Regions from separate parts of the Homo sapiens genome. Here region 1 is linked to region 2. The links are contacts of gene promoters, found by promoter capture Hi-C in blood cells and fetal thymus (Javierre and others, 2016). All regions are on one chromosome and are shown on one strand. The core of a region is centred on a gene start or on the middle of the fragment in contact, and the rest is flanking DNA. Distances in the headings are between cores, read along the strand shown. Region 1 holds the start of DNAJC28 (DnaJ heat shock protein family (Hsp40) member C28). Region 2 holds the start of IL10RB (interleukin 10 receptor subunit beta).

Region 1 (2,700 bases), core at 182-2,681, 230 kb before region 2:
ACAGGCGCCCGCCACCACACCTGGCTAATTTTTTGTATTTTTAGTAGAGACGGGGTTTCACCGTGTTAGCCAGGATGGTCTCGATCTCCTGACCTCGTGATCCGCCCGCCTCGGCCTCCCAAAGTGCTGGGATTACAGGCGTGAGCACCGCGCCCGGCCAGAAATCCTATTTTCTTTCACATGAGTTATTTTGTTGATTGTTTGCTTATAACTAAAGCCCTCAGAATCAGAGTTTATACTGTATCTTTTTCTGTGTTCCTACATAGATGGCAATAAATGATTCTAATGTTTATGATGTAGAAGCTGAGGAGGCTAATACCTATTTCTGGCTCCTTTTAGGAGACACAGTCATAACAAAAAATATTGCTTAATGTGCGAGGCACAGTGCCAAGTGGTTTACATACATTGTGTAATTCTCCCCCTAAAAAAGTCAATGAAGTTGATACAATTATTATTTCATTATATGTAAAATAGGGAAAATAACAGCATTTATCTCAGAGGGCTGTTGTAAAGATTAAATGAATGCCTGTAATCCCAGCACTTTGAAAGGCCGAGGCAGGCAGATCACCTTAGCTCAGGGGTTCGAGACCAGCCTGGCCAACATGGTGAAACCTGGTCTCCACTAAAAATACAAAAAAATTAGCTGGGCATGGTGGTGCGCGCCTGTAATTCCAGCTACTCGGGAGGCTGAGGCAGGAGAATAGCTTAAACCCGGGAGGTGGAGGTTGCAGCGAGCCGAGATCGCGCCACCACACTCCAGCCTGGGCGACAGAGCGAGACTCTGTCTCAAAAAAAAAAAAAAAAAAGTAAATGAGAATATACATAAAGCACTTAGCACAATGGCATACTATTTACTATAGTTTACTATTTATTGCAACTCTCATTTTGCAGGTATCTTGCCTAAGGTGCAAGCAGAAGAAACAGGATTTTCAACCCAGATCTGAAAACTCCCAAGCCTCTGCCTTTTTCTTTTTATCCTTTTTCTTTTTCCTTGTTAAAAAACTTGCTTCCTGTACAGAGAGGGGAAATGCTCAGTCCCCACGTCAGTGGTTGAACTCCAAGCCAGAAGATCCCTATTTTGATTTTGTCCTCTGGCCTGTCGCCAGCCCCTCAACAGTACTTGAATTAATAAAAGGGCAGGTTTTAAGCCTCATGTATCTGCGCAGGTGACTCCTTCTGTGACCCCGAATAAACCTGTTCCGGTCCCGTTCCGGGGAAACAGCCTTGCCTTCCCCTGCCCCCAGAAAGTTACCCTCGCCCTCCGAGCCACAACTCCCCACGCCGCCAACTCGGTCTTTACATCATTTTCGACGCCCCCTAAGTCCCTCCCGAGAGGCGCAGGCGCACATCGCCCCTTCTAGCGAACTACATCTCCCACAATCCCAATCGGCCGGACCACCTCCGCTCGGGGCGGGGACGGAGGTGGAGCTGGTGGTCCCCGGTCGGGACGAAGGCTCCCGAGGTGCCCTGCCTGGGTCCTCCGGGGTAAAGTTCGTTTGGCGGAAGATTGTCCGTTTTCCTGGTAAGGTCACCTGTCCCAATCAGGTACGATTCTGCCTTCCGTACCCCCGAGCCCCTCAGTGTAAAGTGGCAAATGGTCTAGCCCGGCGGAGGCACCAGCTGGAGGCGGTGGGAGGGACACCCGCAGTGAAGGGCGGACCGCGCACGCATGCGCAGAGGCGCGGCAGGGGGGCGGGAGCCGCGGAACCCCTACCCCAGGTCTGCGCAGGTGAGGAGGGGGCGGGGCAGGACCGACCTCCCTTGCCATGATAACCACCTTCGCAGCCGGCTCCCAGACCGTTGGCACCGATTGCCTAGAAAATAGGGGGTCTCAGGAGCTCCGTTTTAGCGTTTATATATCCCAATTCCAATTAAGCCACTTCCAGTATTTTTTGGCCATTGTCAGTGTACAAGTCTTCCTCCTCTTCGAGACCATGTTATTGCAATAGCAGCAAACGTGTTGGGAGGCCTCACAATTCATCATGGTTTTTCTGGCCTCTGGCAGATAGCTCCTTCCTAGCGAGCTGTGGAGCTTAAAGTCTTTTGGACACTTGATTCTATTCAATCCAGTATCAGACCAGGTACGTACCTTGTCCATAAGTCGTCTTATGAGAAGACTTCTTGAGATGATGCAGACTCTCGTGCAGTTTATAATCGGCTGGAGGTATAGACAGTTAAGCAAGCCTCCTTTTTTACTGTGCCCACCCCTAACCATTTTGCTTACACCTTGTTATGGGACTTGGTTAAATTGCTTAACCTTCCGGACCTACGTTTTCTCATTAAATGAGAAGATTGGATTAGATGATCTCTAAGAACTTTCCACTTGTAAAATATACGGTTAGTTAGTGAGGGGTAGAATCCAGATTCTATCTATCTATATTTTTTTGAGACAGAGTCTCACTCTGTTGCCCAGGCTGGAGTGCAGTGGCACGATCTCGGTTCACTGCAACCTCCACCTCCCGGGTTCAAGCGATTCTCTTGCCTCAGCCTCCCGAGTAGCTGGGACTGCAACCTCCAGTTAATTTTTGTATTTTTAGTAGAGACAGGGTTTTGCCATGTTAGCCAGGCTGATCTCGAACTCCTGACCTCAGGTGATCCACCCACCTCGGCCTCCTAAAGTACTGGGATTACAGGCGTGTGCCACCGTGCCTGGCCCCACAATATGTTAACACTAAACTTCATCAGCTTCCACTTTTCTGC
Region 2 (2,700 bases), core at 139-2,638:
CACCTGAGGTCAGGAGTTCGAGACCAGCCTGGCCAACATGGCGAAACCCCATCTCCAATAAAAATACAAAAATTAGCCAGGCGTAGTGGCACACACCTGTAATTCCAGCTACTCGGGAGGCTGAGGGAGGAAAATCGCTTGAACCCGGGAGGCGGAGGTGGCAGTGAGGCAAGATCAAGCCACTGCACTCCAGCCTGGGCCACAGCAACAGAGCAAAACCCTGTCTCAAAAAAAAACAAAAAAACAAAAAAACAAACAAACAAAAAAAAAAACGGAAGAAGAAAGAAAGAAAAGAAAATTTGAAACCTACATGCAAGTAGAAAAGTAGAAGACTATAATAAACCACCACCCATCACCCAACTGGTACCAAGAGAGATATAAATGTGCGAGTCATGGGCCTATAGCCCGTGTTTAATGCCAGGGTTTGGCTGAAATCCCCCAAAGGAACAGTGCCAGGGAAGGAGAGAAAAGGCCTTGGGCATCACAATTAGCTACATAGAAACCTGACAGAGCAGGAGGGTCCCAAGCAGAGACAGCCTGACAGGGCGGGAAACCGGAGGGGTATCCCGGAAGGCCAGGGAAGAGTTCATGAGAAAGGAAGGAGGTGACCATGGTGTTATTGGAACCTAGGCAGTCAATTTAGAGGACAGAAAAGGTTTCAATGGATTTAGGTTTAGAAGCCATGGAGCTGGGGCGCTGGGGGACAGAATCCAGATTTCAGGGTGCTCGGGCCTGAACCGGAAGGAGGGGAGGTGCAGCGGGTGATGGGAGGCACATCTGTAGGGAGGGCTGGCACTGAGGGGGCAGACTTGGGGTCAGGGAGGGCTGTCAGGGCACTCGGGGACTGGTGGGGGCCTCCACTTGAACTGATAGTCTCCAGAAGGGTCAGATGACAGCCACGGTGGGATCTTGGGTCTTTTGGGGAAGCTACTTTATTTAGACGCCCGCCAGCAGAGAGCTGCAGGAGGACAGGGAATCAAAAGACGCCGGGAGTCTCCCCCTGAGTTTAGGGCCCAGACGGTCTGTAATCCGGGCGCGGATGGGGCTTTCTCCTGTTACAGAATCGACGGCAGCAGCAGCCTAGTTGCGTCTCAGCAGCCGGCCGTGGCGTTTGCATCTTCTCTCCCGAGGCCCCGAAGGCTCTTAAGTCACTTGCAGGGCGCCCAGGGATGGGATCAGGGGCGGCATCTCGCGGGGCCTCCCGGTTCCCAAGCGCGCCCCCTCCCCGCGGACCCCTCACCTGACACCAGCAGGCAGCCACCCAGCCAGCTCCCAAGGCTCCACGCCATGGACGGACGCTGGGGGTTCCGCGGCTTCCTCCAAGCACACGACCCCCGCCCGCGCCCGGGAGAGCTTGTCCGCGGCGGCTTCCGGGAACCAGCGGAGATGGGCGGGGCGGGGTGGGGAGGGGCCGGGCGACCGGGCTCCCACCCCGCTGCAGGCCCCGCCCACCAGCCCGGGTCCACCCGCGAGGCGCGGGGCACAGGCTTGGCAGATGCACACGAGGAAGAGGAAGGGATCCTCGCAAGCTTTGAAAGGCGCCGTCAAGTCAAATAAATAAATGCCCTACAACACCAACCCAGGACTGAGATCTGCATGCTGGAATGACGGTGGTGGTGGTGGCTTTCAGTATTCCCCAGGTTTTGTCCGGAGCACCGGCACGCCCTCTCTTGAAGTCCGCTCTCCGCACAGGTGAGTTAAAAGCACTTCAGCAGCAAATCCAGTTTGAGGGTCTTCTTTACCCTTCTCCCCAGGGATAAACAACACAAAACCAAGTCATCTTTACGCAAATAACTAGTTTCTTTCAGAGACTACTAAGAAAGCGTTAATTTCCTCTTTTTAACTTGATTAGTGGTTAGACGGGAAGATCCGGAGCTGTCCAGTGTCTTGGGTAATGCACGGCATCGCCTGATGTCTGACGCTAGAACACCACGTAAAGTCAAGCAGAGGGAAGTGAATGCGCCCTAGGCCCCTGCAGGCCACCAAGAAGAGCTAGAGGGAGTTGGTGCAATCCTAGAGATGCCGGCAGGTGCACCAATCTGTGGCACACGTACGCTCTCCAATGGAAGACAACTCAAGACCACACCAAGTTTGTATTAAAAAAGTACTGTTGTGTTACTTTTTACCAACCTCCAATCATTATACAAAATGTTAAAAAATACACAAACACACACACACACTCACAGCCATAGAGGTTATCGCAAAAGATCAACCCAGAATCTTTCAGAATATGACAGATGCACTGAGAAGGCAGATAAATTGATTCAATATACAAAAGGCCTCTTTCCTATGGAATTTCATTAGATTAAATAAGGTGTTCCCTCCTCACAGCCTCATCCTTATGAGCAATCATATAAATAATCTATTTAAAGTCCTTGAACTATAACTTGTATAATTTTTAGTTTTCCCCCTTTGAAGGGGCCTAAGAGAAAGGTTTGAGAAACCAGCTCTTGAGGGGGGCAGGGGTGAGGGGTAAGAGGTCCTGTGCCTTTCATTCATCCTGGGAGCTTCTCAGGATTGCAGCATTTCCACCTGAGTGTTCATTCTTGTACATTTTCTCATCTTTCTCCTGGGTTCCTAGGATCTTGGAGATTACCTAGTCCAATCCTTTTACTTCAGAAACAAAAAACCTGAGGCTCAGAAAGGCTAAGTCAAATGCCTAGGGTCACACAGGGAAACTGTGGGAGTTGGATCCCTGAG

What was found. Contacts are between HindIII fragments. The CHiCAGO score rates a contact against its expected background, and 5 or more counts as called.
Region 1: the fragment with the promoter of DNAJC28 here is called in contact with the fragment with the promoter of IL10RB in region 2 in 11 of 17 cell types (total B cells, M0 macrophages, neutrophils and 8 more); the score reaches 12.4 in total B cells.

What each region holds. Positions count from the first base shown.
Region 1 is chr21:33,490,447-33,493,146 of GRCh38, reverse strand. DNAJC28 (DnaJ heat shock protein family (Hsp40) member C28) reads left to right here and starts at 1,431. Exons shown (of 2, transcript NM_001040192.3): 1 at 1,431-1,545. The HindIII fragment of the contact is 6,958 bases long and covers 1-2,700 here.
Region 2 is chr21:33,265,055-33,267,754 of GRCh38, reverse strand. It overlaps IL10RB (interleukin 10 receptor subunit beta), which reads right to left and starts at 1,388. Exons shown (of 7, transcript NM_000628.5): 1 at 1,241-1,388. The coding sequence starts at 1,289. All of the region lies in intron 7 of IFNAR2-IL10RB (IFNAR2-IL10RB readthrough), which reads right to left. It overlaps IFNAR2 (interferon alpha and beta receptor subunit 2), which reads right to left. Exons shown (of 9, transcript NM_001289125.3): 9 at 2,091-2,700. IL10RB-DT (IL10RB divergent transcript) reads left to right here and starts at 1,495. Exons shown (of 2, transcript NR_038974.1): 1 at 1,495-1,692; 2 at 1,853-2,123. RefSeq lists a silencer at 1,133-1,542 and enhancers at 1,713-1,782, 1,813-1,872. The HindIII fragment of the contact is 8,663 bases long and covers 1-1,531 here.